Linked DNA regions of Homo sapiens: all the other regions are linked to region 3. Evidence: promoter capture Hi-C in 16 types of primary human blood cells and fetal thymus (Javierre and others, 2016). All regions are on one chromosome and are shown on one strand. Each heading gives the region's core, a stretch centred on a gene start or on the middle of the fragment in contact. The rest is flanking DNA. Distances are from core to core; before and after follow the strand shown.

Region 1 (4,440 bases), core at 614-3,113, 750 kb after region 3:
TGGCAGTAGATGCCCCAACTCCCATGGCAGCCAGCACCATGACCGTCAAATAGCCCCTGTTTACCAGTGGCAAACCCATGGTCTTATGGGAAGGGCCCTGGGAAGGGGTTAGGCAGCCTGAGTGTGGATTCTGGTGGCCTCTGCACCCCTAAATAAATACCGGGAAAGAAACTCCGTGAAGTCAGGGGCAGGTTTGCCTCATTCCCTGCTACACCCTAGTGCTTAAGGGTATGGCCCAGAATGGACACCAGGAGATATTTGCTGAGCCAGTGAAGGGAGGAAGGGATGGTCTCTGCCTTCTTGTAGCCAGGAAGAACAGTCTTAACCCCAGATTGAGAGTCAGTCCAATTTGAAATAGAAGCTGTGTGAACCTGAGTGAGTCAACTACACATCTGTTTCTTAATTTGTAAATGGGTATAAAGACCTACTAGATAGGAGTATAAGGACTAAACCTGATAAGGGTGGAGCATGAATAAGACACTTAACAGTGGTTATAGCTGGGGAATGGGATGGGTGATAAGGAGAGATCCATTACTTTATCTAGAACTGTTTGAAATGTTTTCCTATAAGTTTGTATTATACACAATAAAAACTAAGGACCAATTGCACAGATGCCCAAGTGGCAACTTCCCTAGTCCTGAAATCCTGATACCACCCTGTGGGCAGAGCAACTCAGCTGTGGCTTCTCCAGAGTCCACAGAAGAAGGGCTGTAGTCATTTCAGGGCTGAAATGTGGCCATACCTGGCCCTAGGACAGGGTTCCTCACCTGGACAGGTTCTCCATCACGCCACACCAGACCTTCTCCATCACTTTCCCAGCAAAGGTGAACTTCCTGGCCCACCCATGCCTCTGGGATGGTCAGCTCCACCCGGAACCAGCAGGTCCACCATCTGCAAGAGAGCTGTTGTGATAGGCCTAGAGGTAGAAGTCCTATCCTGATATCCTTCCTTGGATAAAGTGTCGGCAGGGGCTTGAAACTCTCCAAGCATCTGCAGTGTCACAAGGTACTCAGCTTTGAGTCACAAGAAAGGAGCAACAAGGTGAGAAGCAAGATGAGGGAAACAGGCAGAGGCGTCAAAGGTTCGTGATCCCTAGGGTGCCCTTCCTAAGGGATGTCCAGAGGCGGCCACGTGGGAATGAAAACCATCCCCTGAAGACCCAGGGACCAGAGAGCTGTTCCCAGCAGAGGGTGCTGCTCCCAGCAGAGGGTGCTGCTCGATCCCACGTAGTTGTCTACGGCAGAGGGCAGACAACGAAGGTGTGGCTGGGAGCTGGGTTGGGACTTCCCCTAGGCCTGTGGCCCCGCCCACCCGCTGGGCGTTACCTACGTGGGTCCGAAGCTGTCGCCGACCTGCGCGGGGCGGAAGTCCCGCTGGACTGCCTCCTGGTAGGGAAGTCTCTCCGGCGTCAGGAAGCTGGAGAGCACAGCCACAGGGCAGCTGGCCCCAAAAAGCCTGCGTGGGACGGGCCGGTGGGCACATGCTGGAGGCCGCCCCGTTTCCGCCTGGGGGCCAGCTGGCCGGTGGGGCCGCACTTTCCCTGGATCCTCCGCCAAGAGGGCTGCCTGGCCGCTCCGCGGCACAGTCCATTCCCTACCCCCTCCTCCCCGGCCCCTGCCCTGCCCGCGGCGGGCACTTTGTCCCGCGGCCCGGGTGGCTGCAGCTTAGGTTTCTCCCCGGAAGGAAAGCTTGAGGCGCACGGTTGCGGTCGGCCGGCTGCGGGGGACCAGGGGCCACACCTGCCGCGGAGGTTACAGTCGGTAAAGTAGAGCGGCGACACGAACTTCTCCACCCGCTCCAGCGTGGTGCGCCAGTGCTTCAAGGCCGGCGCAGCCGCCATCGCCGGGCTCTCGCTCCTCTTTCCGGAAGGCCCCTGGCGCTACCGTTCCGCTCCACGGCAGGAAACCAAAGGTTCCGGCGTCCAGAGGGCGCCTCCCAGTCCCGGGCAGCTTTTCTTGGAACACCGGCGGCTCTCGGAAGCCCAGCTGCTGTCTGAACTTTGAGCCGAGTTGGAAGCTAGAAACTGTTTTTGAGGCTCTCCTATGTTGTCCGAAATAGTGGGCCGCAGGGAAAATCTCAAAATAAAATGGGAAATTTGACGATTAGAACTCTCGAAAGTCTCAAGACAGAGACTTAGGCCATTCGGCAAGACAGGCGGGAGCCTCAGCTGCTGCAGACCCAGCCTCAGAAGCAGCAACCGGGAGACCTCTGGCTCTAGCTGTCGGTGAACACGGAAAGTGGTGTTTGCTTAACGTGGAGCCAGACTACCCGGAATAGGTGTTTTCATACCGGACGGAGATCAGGGTGTTAGTGAGCAGGGTGGTAGAGCTTTACGCCCAAGTTACTACGACTTACTCGATTACACGCTTTACTGAATGTATATTGCTAACTCTTGCACATCACCAGAAACTCTGGAGTTTGAGGTGGCAGAACAGTCATGGCATTGACGATCCCAATGGAAAAATGTATTTCACCATACAGGACTGTAGAGTCCCGGGAAGCCATAATACCAGAAACAGACCTCCAGTTTCATTCTCATCCCTAGTACTCCACTGACAGCTTTATTTTTTTTCTCCTGGGGTTGCCAAGAGTCTTTGTCTATAAAATCATTAGGAACAAAAAAAAATACACAAGATTAGCCCTGATATTTTAATGGAAATACTGACCAAGTTTACAACATTTCAAATGCAGATCACACGGAAAGGTGACTAAGTACAGAATAACAAATGTGATTTAAAACAAAGATAACCTGCTGCTGCATATAATACAGGTTGGGTTTAGAGCTTGGAGCTCAGATGTCAGACAGCAGGAGGAATAAAAATGCTACTTGTGAAAACCCAGGCTGTAGGTAAAACTTACTCTTTTGTTGGTTGCACTGGTGGGTTGGGACTTTCTCCTGAACTGGCCTTGAAATCCTATCCTGACCTGCAGGCAAGTGCTCTGGACAAAACACTGCAGGGGCAGCAACAGCTGGGGCTGACCCTGATCACACCCCACCAATTTCCCCTATGGTTCCAGGTCAACATGACCTTTCTTGAGGGAACACGGGGATAGGTGAATTATTTGAGAAAACCTCAAGATCTTTCCCCTAAATCAGTACACATGACCACCGCCAAGTCAGACACTGCCCCAGCTTTGCCCTAAAATCTCATCCCACAAAGCTCTTTTTGGCACCCTACACTTTGGCTCACAGTCTCTTCTCCCCAGTACAAAAAAAGCCTAAAATCAGGCCAGGGTGGCTCACACCTGTAATCTCAGCACTTTGCGAGGCCGAGGTGGGAGGACAGCTTGAGGCCAGGAGTTTGAGACCAACCTGGGCAGCATAGCAAGACCCTGTCTCTACAAAAAGTTAAAAAATTAGCTGGGCGTGGTGGCATGCAGCTACTCAGGAGGCCGAGGTGGGAGGACTGCTTGAGCCTGGGAGGTCAAGCCTGCAGTGAGCTATGATCGTGGCACTGCACTCCAGTGTGGGTCATAAAGCGAGACACTGTCTTTAAACAATAAAAGCCTAAAATCAGAGAGGTCTACCATGTGTTTTGAAAATCCAGGAGCCAAAAAATTTTGTTTTTCTTTTTGGTGGTGGTGGTGATTTTTAACTAAAAAGCAAACATAAAACACACAGAACATTGCTGGTTACAACTAAGACTTGCGTAATGGTTGCTGAAGAAAAATCCACCAGAGTACTGGGAGGGGCTCAGTTGGTCTTTGTTCAGAAAGTCCAGGTTAACCACATAGAAAAATCCTAATCATTCATGTTTAAATGTCTGCTAGTTTAAATTTATGTAATTAAAAAAATAGGTATCCCATTTCAAATTCTCTCCCTCCCAACTCCATTTATAAGGTATACCACATGCCTTATGCACACTTTTTTTTCAAACACTGGTTTGGTATTTAAGTTGCTCACCCCCATCCATCACCAATGTGAATAAGAAAAAATATATAGAAATACAAACTACATAGCTTGACAACTTACCCAAATATAAAATATTTTCAGATTATTTGAACAAGGGAAAAAAACACGTACTAAAAGACTTAAGTATTCTAAGATTTTGGAATATTTTGATTTGGGACAAGTAACAAGTATTTTAAGCAAAATCCTGTTTCTACCCTGGATAAGGAACTGAAGTCAAAATCCCTGCTTCACAGTATTTTCTGGTGAGGACAAGGGACGTGGGTTGAGAGTTTATTCCTTAAGTAAGAACCAAGCTTTATTTATTTACAAAAAAAAAAAAAAAAAAGTTGGGGGCAAAGGGGAAGACAAGTTTTACACAAAAGTACTACAATGGTAACTCCCTTTGGTAAAAAGTGTAATAAATGTCTTGTACATCTGTTCATAGGTACTAAATCTGAAGCCACAGTACTATGGTACACAAGAAGCTAGAGCAGTTATGCTAGCACATCAAAGCATATTTCTTTTAATAAAAAATTGACAGTATGTAC
Region 2 (4,221 bases), core at 929-3,428, 840 kb after region 3:
CATCTAATGTGGTTCTGCTATCTAAATCTGAAATGCCCTAAGGCAACTCTCCAATACAGGCTGGAGGGCAACGCTACAGAAGTCACATACAGAAGGCTACCCTGATCCACAATTCCACCCTCCTCTGAAATAAAAAGGGCAACAACACTGTACTATGTAGAGTATAAATAGAAAGTGGTCTAGATGGTCTAACATAAGTACATAAAATAAAAAAGAAAAGACTTTTCACCTATAGTTACCTAAATAGCAAATTCTTTAGGAAACCAAGTTTTTTTGGTTGTTTTTTGAGGCGGAGTTTTGCTCCTGTCGCCCAGGCTACAGTGCAATGGCACCATCTCGGCTCACTGCACCCTCGCCTCCCGGGTTCAAGTGATTCTCCTGCCTCAGCCTCCCCAGTAGCTGGGATTACAGGCGCTTGCCACCACGCCCAGCTTTTTTTTGTATTTTTAGTAGAAACAGGGTTTCGCCATGTAAGCCTGGCTGGTCTCGAACTCCTGACCTCAAGTGATCCACCTGCCTCGGCCTCCCAAAGTGCTAGGATTACAGGCATGAGCCACCGCGCCCGTCCAGGAAACTAAGTTTATATAGCAGAACCATGTGCACAATGAAAGCATTCAAAAATACAACTGTCAGAGATATCGGAGTATTTTATTCAAAGTCTGAGTTCTTAAAAAAAAAAAACAAACCCTACTTTATAAACAGACCAGTTTTGAGATTAAAATGTAAATCCAAACTTTCCTGTTATAAATCTCAGCCTTGTAAAGAGGAGGAGCTTCCACTGCCTTTTCAAGGCTAACTTCGTTTAAAGTCCTAACGCACCGAAACAGACGCCAAGTCTACTACCCACCACCCATTGGCTCAAAGGAAGCCCCGCCCCGTACAGCCACGGTAACTGAACATCAAGGGAACCCCAGGGAAGGTTTTCCCTCCGCCACATTTCTAGTCTCTGATGACTCCCTGCCCCTCCCCTACCATCACCACCGCGGATCTAGGGTTCCAGCACCAGCCACGCACGCTCCTACAAGAGGACCTTGGGCACTTCGCCCCAATAGTTACAACCAAGAGGGGAGTGGGGGTGACCATGCTCCCACTCTCCTGGCTGCACGGTGCCAGACACGCTGCATGGAGCAAAGCGGAGAAAGCAGCTCCGGCACAGGGCCCTTGTGCCCCCAGGCAGAAGGCATGACCCAGCCACAAGAGTAAGTCCTGACACCTCCACAGCTCCCAGTCGGCGGGTGCCCCTCCCTCCCCACGGAGACATAGGGCGGGGCAGATCTAGGCGCCGAGACTCCCAGCCAGACCCGACAGCGGGCTTTCCCTAGCACCTCCTCATTGCCAAGGAGGCGGAAACCCGGGGCCTGGGCGGGGTGCAGGGGGGGACGGCCAAGGGGAGTGGCATCACGGATCAGTACGGCCCCTCCGGCCAACCGGATCCCAAGAAGGCGGAGGAACTCAGACTTCACGCCCCCTCCCTGCCGCGCCCTGAATCTACACGCGGGAGACCCCCCCCTACCCCTCCCCGACCCCAGCAGGCCAGAGCGCGGCCGCCAGCCCGAGGCCCCGCCCACCCCAGGAGGAGGGGAGGGGGTGGTCGGCCGCAAACTGCACTCAGCGCGAAGCCGGCCCCGCCCCTTTCTCCACAATCGCACGCGCGCGCCGGCCCCGCCTCTGAGCGGCGGCGCGAGAGCCCGCCCCCCTCCGCGCGCACCGGGACTACGCTCTCCTCCCCCTCCCGCGCGGAGAGCTACCCCGCTCCGCCCCCCACCCCCCTCACACAACCACACACCTCCCGCCCGTCTGCTCTACGGGAAGCCGAGGAGGTCAGCCCCCCCCCCCCAAAATACACACCCTCGAGTCCGGCGTTACCCGCCACCAGGCTCCCGCCCGGCCCCCGGCCCAGCGTGCTCTCACCGCAAAGCTGCTTCGGCCGCTCGTCACTGCGTGTCCCTCTCAGCGTGAGCCGCGAGCTCAGCAGGGAGGCCCCGAGAACGGCGCGGGGCACAGGCCCGCCGAAGCGGACTGCCAGCTACCTCTCCACTAACGAAGCGGTCACAGGCTCCGGTGCCCAGACTGGGAAGGAGGGAGGGAGGGAGGGAGGGAAACTCCGAGGGGGGAAGGGGAGGGGGGAAGATGGAGAAACCGTCTCCGCCGCCTCTACCGCCGCGGCCGCTTCTCTGTTACCCGGGAAATCCCGCCCACTCCCCCGACCCCGCCCCGCAGAGGGAAGACTCAGCTTCGTTCCAATACAGGACGCAATACCCGCCCGTCAAAGACTCAGCCAACCACCGAGGCCTGTCTTATGATTTTCCCGCCCCTTCCCCCTCGACTGGTAGGGGAGGGGGAGCCGCTCTCCTTCTCCACGCCCCTATTGGCGGGGAGCTTCCCTAACTCAACCCCGCCTATTGGAGACGGACTGCTGAAGCCCACCCCCGAGCCCCAACACTATTGGAGGAAGCAGGGAAGCTCTTCCTGTCTCATTGGAGGACACCACATAACCCGCCCTGCAGCGTCTCAGCCACAGGCCTAACAAGTTGGCTCCCGCCTCCGCTGGTCATCGCATTGGAAGGCTACCCCTGGCTCTCCCACCGCCCCAGTAAGGTAAGTAACCGATGTGGGGTAAAATGTCTGTAAGTGAAACAGGCTCCGCCTACCGCACTGCCGGGCCAGGCCCCGCCCCAAGAGTCGGATTGGATATCTTGGCGCTGGTAGGACCCTCCATTGGCCAGGGCGCCCGTCTAGGAAGGAGCTAATTCCACCCTGCGCGAGGAGGCTGAACCTTAGCAGTCCTTTTGTGGAATGTTTACACTAGAGACTGAAGCTCGGAGTTCCAGGGCCCGAGATAGGAGGGGGAGCGGAGCTCATCAGCGGAGACTCCACATCCTAGGATTTGAAGGAAAGGCAGCCCACCATGGAGGACTCCCTCACAAAAAAAATGAGAGAATGAGAACTCATCCTTCCGTCCAGTTATCTTTACAGTTTACATTCTACACACTGCGTCCTTGTAAACACAAATATCCGGAGCAGCTGGCAACTCCTTTCAGCCAAGTAGAGTACAGAACTAAGGTCTGGAGACCTAGGCGGAGAAGTAAACTCCCTAGAGCTGAATATGCAGTCCTAAGAGGGCGGAGATAACCAAAAGAGAGGCGGGCTCTAACAGCCACCGCCCTGGCAAGCCTCCGGAAGGCGGAGCGTGAGGCACAAGGTACTCACGATCTCCCGGGTGGATCTGGAGGCATCCTCAGAACTGAGAAAGGAGAGGAAAACACCAAAACAGGCCACGGCATAAATTAACATTGGGGACATGCCACACTCAGAGAATGGATAAAATTTCCGTAGTTGGGGACATAAGATAACGGCTGTTCACCTTCTCCTTGGCCGGGAGTGTTAATAGCAGTTCCTGTGCCCTCTCTGTGTAGGTAACAGTGCCTCGAACACACAGTGAGACAAAGTGCTTTCAATTCCTAGTTTGCTTTTATTTATTCACCAAATAGGGCGTGGGCCTGACGCTGATCTTACTTTGGGGGGCGCTCTCTCAGCGCCAGGAGAGGTGACGGGATTACGTTGTTACCGCTCTCCCGAATAAGTAGAACCCTCCTCCCAGAGAGCTAAGACCCCAAGGGACACGCCCAGGGAACCCACGCCTAGGTCCAACACTGTCCTCCCTCTGCAATCCAGCGGAAACGGCCAGGAACGAGCTCTGGCAGCAGGTGGGCCTGACTCCAGCGATGGCTTCGAGCCGCGAAACCACAGCAGCGAATTGTGAACTCCAAGGGTAGCCGACAGGTGGGAGCAGCCTCGCCAGTAGCCAAGCCCTGCCCCAGGACAGAGCTCTAAAAATAAGTCAGACCAACGAAGCGACCCCAGGGCCAAACTGCTCGGAGGTTAGGAGGAAGCGGCACTCCAGCAGAACTGACCCACGGCTACTTTTAACTTTGCGCCGCCTTCCACCACTAGACTGAGTACCACAGGGCATTCCCACCATGGTATCAAGAACTACTCAGAACCCAAGCCAGCATTAGGCCGCCCACGACTTCCCGTGAACACAGGGTACCACCTGCGCTAAGATCTCGCCTAAGGGCCCCAGGCCAGGGCACTAGGTTGTCAGAGTCTCAGATACAGCCAACTAAGGACAGCCGCTGCCATGCCTAGGAAAGAACAGACACTTGCAGCGTCTGCAGAGTTCTCGAGCTTAAGCTCAGGGAAGTCAAGGGGCACGGAAAT
Region 3 (4,016 bases), core at 1,355-3,854:
GGGGCAAAAGGGAGACCAAAAGGGGTGAGAGGAGCTGTGGGGTTTGGGAGGATGCAGGGCAGCGGCACCTCCCCAGTGCCCTTGAGATATGCTACAGACCTCAACTCCACAGAGGCTGAGGACCCAGACAGGAGCTTGGGCCTGAGGGGCAGTGGAGGTGGAGCAAGCCTCCTCTGAGGTGGGGATGGGAGTGGAGGAGTTACCCAAACCTCACCTGGGGGCAGATCTTTCTCCAAGTTTCTGAAAGGTGTGAAAGTCACAAAAGAATGAAGCTCTAAGGGTAGAATCTCAGGCAGGATGGCCTCCAGGCTGCAAAGTGTGGAGAGGGAGACAGCTGGGAGATGGCTTCTGTTCCACCTCAGAAAAAGAGAGTTGCTTCGTGGCTGGGAGGTAGGGACTCCTGGATTCTCAGTGGTGGGCAGTTTTGTGGGAAGGTGACTAACTTACCCCATCAGAGCCTATAGCTCAGGGCAGGGCTGGGGACAGAAGCTTCTCTGAGAACATCCATCCCGGGGACAGAAGCTTCTCTGAGAACATCCATCCCTCAGGGCTAGTATCCTGGAGCCATGGAAACTCAGGCAACACTAAGTGGTGGGAGGAGGAGACACCAGAGAGGCCTCCTACTCCACCTCATCTGAGCTGATGAAACCCCGAGATGGAACCTGGCTAGTGTGGTCGAGGCCATGGGTACCAGGCAGGAATGGCATCTCAGATGGCCTGGGATTTTTCAAAATCTTCAGCTTTTGAGATAGGACCTTAGGGGGCAGGACCTCAGCAGCCAATCTGGGTCACCCACTGTACACTGAAGCGGCTCCTAACTTTCTTTTTTGAGACGGAGTTTTGCTCTCTTGCGCAGGCTGCAGTGAAGTGGCGCGATCTCGGCTCACTGCAATCTCTGCCTCCCGGGTTTAAGTGATTCTCCCACCTCAGCCTCCCGAGCATCTGGGACTACAGGCGCGTGCCACCACGTCTAGCTAATTTTTGTATTTTTAGTAGAGACGGGGTTTCGCCATGTTGGCCAGACTGGTCTCGAATTCCTGACCTCAGGTGATCATCCACCTCAGCCTCCCAAAGTACTGGGATTAGAGGGGTGAACCACCGCGCTTGGCCGATTTTTTGTTTATTTTTTGAGACAGGGTCTCCTTCTGTCGACCAGGCTGGAGTGCAGTGGTGTGATCATAGCTCACTGCAATCTCAACCTCCTGGGATCAAGCGATCCTCCTGCCTCAGTCCCCTGCAAGGAGCTGGAACTACAGGCATGCGCCACCCAGTCCGGCTAATTTTTGTAATTTTTTGGAAGGGGACCCAGTTTTGAATTAGCTTCTGTTGTTTACTTCGGATAGCCATGGTGGAGCTGGCAGAGATTTAGGGGATACTAAACACCCCTACAAATCACGCCTTGAAACCCCCCGTTTCAGGGAGAGCCGCTGGCGAAGGACTTGATGCGCAGCCGCAGCTCGGAAGCGGGGGGCTCCCCTGCGACACCTCCCCGCTTCAGGGGCGGGCCCAGACCCGCGGGGAGGGGCATGGGCGGGGCCGCGGCTGGCTGGCGGCCGCCGGGGCGGTGCTGGGGAAACCCTTGGCGCCCCCGCGGAGCGGTCCCAAGGAGGGGGCGGTGCCTGGAGGGATGGTCCGCCCCGACTGCGGGTTTCTAGCCCTCGCGTGGCGTGGGGACAATTAGGCGCCACGCCCTGTCGCTTCACTGCGCGACGCTCGCGAGGCCGGGGACGCCACTCCCAGACCGGGCGGGACGCGCACGCTCACAGTGAGGTCTCAAAAGATCCCCACCTCAGTTTTCTCATCTGGAAAGTGGGGCCTCGTAATCCTGTCCGACCCGGCGCGGGACAGTAGGTGTCAGGGATTTTGGTGACCCCACGCTCGAGGCCTCTGCAAAAGGGGGCTGTCCAGTGGCCCAGAGACGCAGCCGGCGGGGCTTTTGTCTAGCGGGGGAGTCTTAACTGAGAGGCCACGCAGGCCGGCAGGAAGCCGCTCCACAGGAGGGGGCTCAAGGAGAGGGGATCTCCTCCCTCCAGACTCCGGCCCCGCCAGAGTAGCTCTAGGGTATCTTCCCAGAAACTGCCCCGCACGCACTGGCGAGCTGGGAGCGCCACCACGGCTTTCAAAAAACCCGCACACACCAAGATAATAATGTGTCGTTCGCTCGTTTCGCGCAAGCGGAGTCGCGTCCGCCTTCCCGAGCTCCGGCACACAGACCTCAGGCCGCTCTCGCGCTCTCCGGGGCCCCGAGAACAATGCCCGTCCTCTCCGCGCGCAGGAGGGAGTTGGCGGACCACGCGGGGTCGGGGCGACGGAGCGGGCCCAGCCCCACGGCCAGGTCGGGGCCCCACCTCTCGGCTCTGAGAGCCCAGCCGGCCCGGGCCGCGCACCTGTCAGGTCGGGGGACCTACGTGCGCCGCGACACGGCGGGAGGCGGGCCGGGCCAGGCTCGTCCCCTCGGCCCTCCCGGAACTAGTCTCCTAGGCCGCGGCGCCCGCCGGAGCGGAGAGGGCTGGTGCCCCGGAGCCTTCGAGTCGGGGGCTAGAGCGGCCAGGCCTCCGAGCCGGGTCGAGCCGAGGCTGGCGACGGCTGCGTCACGCGAGGGGGCGGGGCTGCCACGGGCGGAGGTCGCAGCCGGAAGCGGAAGAGGCGCTCGGAGCGGGGAGTGGGGCCTAGCTGCAGCCGGAGCCTGGGAGACGGTAAGTGTGGGCTGGGGTCCGCGGCGGCGACAGCGGCGGCGGCGGCCGGGGGTGAGTCGGCGGGGCAGGCGCGCTGGTGCCATTCGGTCTCGGCCTACTCCCTTTCTTTCTCCTCTTCGGCCCATATCGGGCCGCGACCTCTCACCCCTGACCCGCTGCTTCTGCCCCGGAGGGCGGTCACTGCAGACCCTGACCTCGACCCCACGGTGTTGAAGGCGGAGCCTGAACGGCCTCTGGGGCCGCTCAAGGGTCCAGTTTGGGCTCTGTGCCTGCCCGCGGAATGGGGTCGGGGTCCGACGTAGAAGAGCCAGAGAAGCCCTTCAGACCCCTCCCCTACCCCTGGCTTCAGGCTTAGTCCGCAGATGACTCCTCCCTTGGCGGCCTGGAGTTTGATTCTGGCCCAGTCCGGCTTTCCCTCTGTCCCCGGGTCTCCCCTCGGCGCCACTGGTGGCGGTTACAGGGGATGGGACTCTGAGACCCCCTGGGACCTGGGGCGGCAGGAAGGGACGCGAACGAGGGCGCAGGCTCCCCTGTGTGTTTTGTTGTGGTGGTAGAGCCACTCCAGCCCGGAGGATGGGCTAGGCCAAGCTGACAGTTCAAATCCCCTGGCTGCTCCTCCGTCCCGCCCGGGAGTCTCTAGCTTTAGTTCCGGGTGTGGGTGCCCTGATGTGGAGCTGGGGTGGAAATTGCCTGAACCAGGCCCCCATCAGAGGCGGAGTTGGCGGCCTTCCAGCTTCCCTTCTTGATGCCCTTGAAAAGGAGGAGCGTTTCACCGTTGGTGGTGGAGGCTTGCGAGGTGGCAGGTTTGAGGTTGCAGTGGTAGGGCAGTCCAGCCAAAAATAACCATGGGTGCTGGGGTGGCTGGAATCCGGGAGGGCAGCCGCTGACCTGGCTGGCTGCACTTCTAGTCAGCCCAGTTCTCTGGCCAGGAACAGCAAATGAGAAGCCGACAAGGCCTGTGCTCAAAGTTGACATCCTTGGCTTGGTTTTCTTCATATCACCTTTTTCCTCATTGTGCAGAGCAGAGCTTCCCAAAGCATAATTGTGGCCTTTAGCTGCTTTTTAAACAAGCTGTTTGCTGAGGTTTTCGAGAATCAGAGATAATTGAGAAATGGGCCCTAGAGCCCTGGCTGGGAGGATGATATCTGCTATTTCCAATATTTTACTTGCCTAGAATGTGTTAAAGGAAGGATACTCTTCTCTGTTATTGCTTTGTGTGTGGTACCTTATAACTCTCATGCTTGTCATCTCTTTTGCCAGGCTGAGAGATGTTATCTCCATTTTCCAGGCATGCTAACCAAGGCCTAGAGTGACTTGTCT

Evidence for each region. The method cuts DNA at HindIII sites, captures the fragments that hold promoters and counts their contacts. A CHiCAGO score of 5 or more calls a contact.
Region 1: the fragment with the promoter of MAN2C1 here is called in contact with a fragment that was not itself captured in region 3 in 1 of 17 cell types (naive CD4 T cells); the score reaches 5.0 in naive CD4 T cells.
Region 2: the fragment with the promoter of SIN3A here is called in contact with a fragment that was not itself captured in region 3 in 4 of 17 cell types (naive CD4 T cells, neutrophils, non-activated CD4 T cells and 1 more); the score reaches 7.6 in naive CD4 T cells.

What each region holds. Positions count from the first base shown.
Region 1 is chr15:75,366,744-75,371,183 of GRCh38, forward strand. It overlaps MAN2C1 (mannosidase alpha class 2C member 1), which reads right to left and starts at 1,864. Exons shown (of 26, transcript NM_006715.4): 1 at 1,740-1,864; 2 at 1,330-1,455; 3 at 768-891. The coding sequence starts at 1,840. SIN3A (SIN3 transcription regulator family member A) reads right to left here. Exons shown (of 21, transcript NM_001145358.2): 21 at 2,636-4,440. RefSeq lists a silencer at 1,531-1,610 and enhancers at 1,637-2,169, 1,741-2,060, 1,745-2,039. The HindIII fragment of the contact is 2,518 bases long and covers 1,687-4,204 here.
Region 2 is chr15:75,449,512-75,453,732 of GRCh38, forward strand. SIN3A (SIN3 transcription regulator family member A) reads right to left here and starts at 2,179. Exons shown (of 21, transcript NM_001145358.2): 1 at 1,912-2,179. RefSeq lists enhancers at 597-1,516, 944-1,073, 2,784-2,833, 3,063-3,594, 3,595-4,127 and 2 more and silencers at 1,324-1,823, 2,044-2,143. The HindIII fragment of the contact is 8,340 bases long and covers 1-4,221 here.
Region 3 is chr15:74,613,203-74,617,218 of GRCh38, forward strand. CLK3-AS1 (CLK3 antisense RNA 1) reads right to left here and starts at 2,590. Exons shown (of 9, transcript XR_007064715.1): 1 at 1-2,590. CLK3 (CDC like kinase 3) reads left to right here and starts at 2,634. Exons shown (of 13, transcript NM_001130028.2): 1 at 2,634-2,696. RefSeq lists silencers at 1,409-1,728, 2,149-2,688 and enhancers at 2,777-3,388, 3,389-3,999. The HindIII fragment of the contact is 4,168 bases long and covers 521-4,016 here.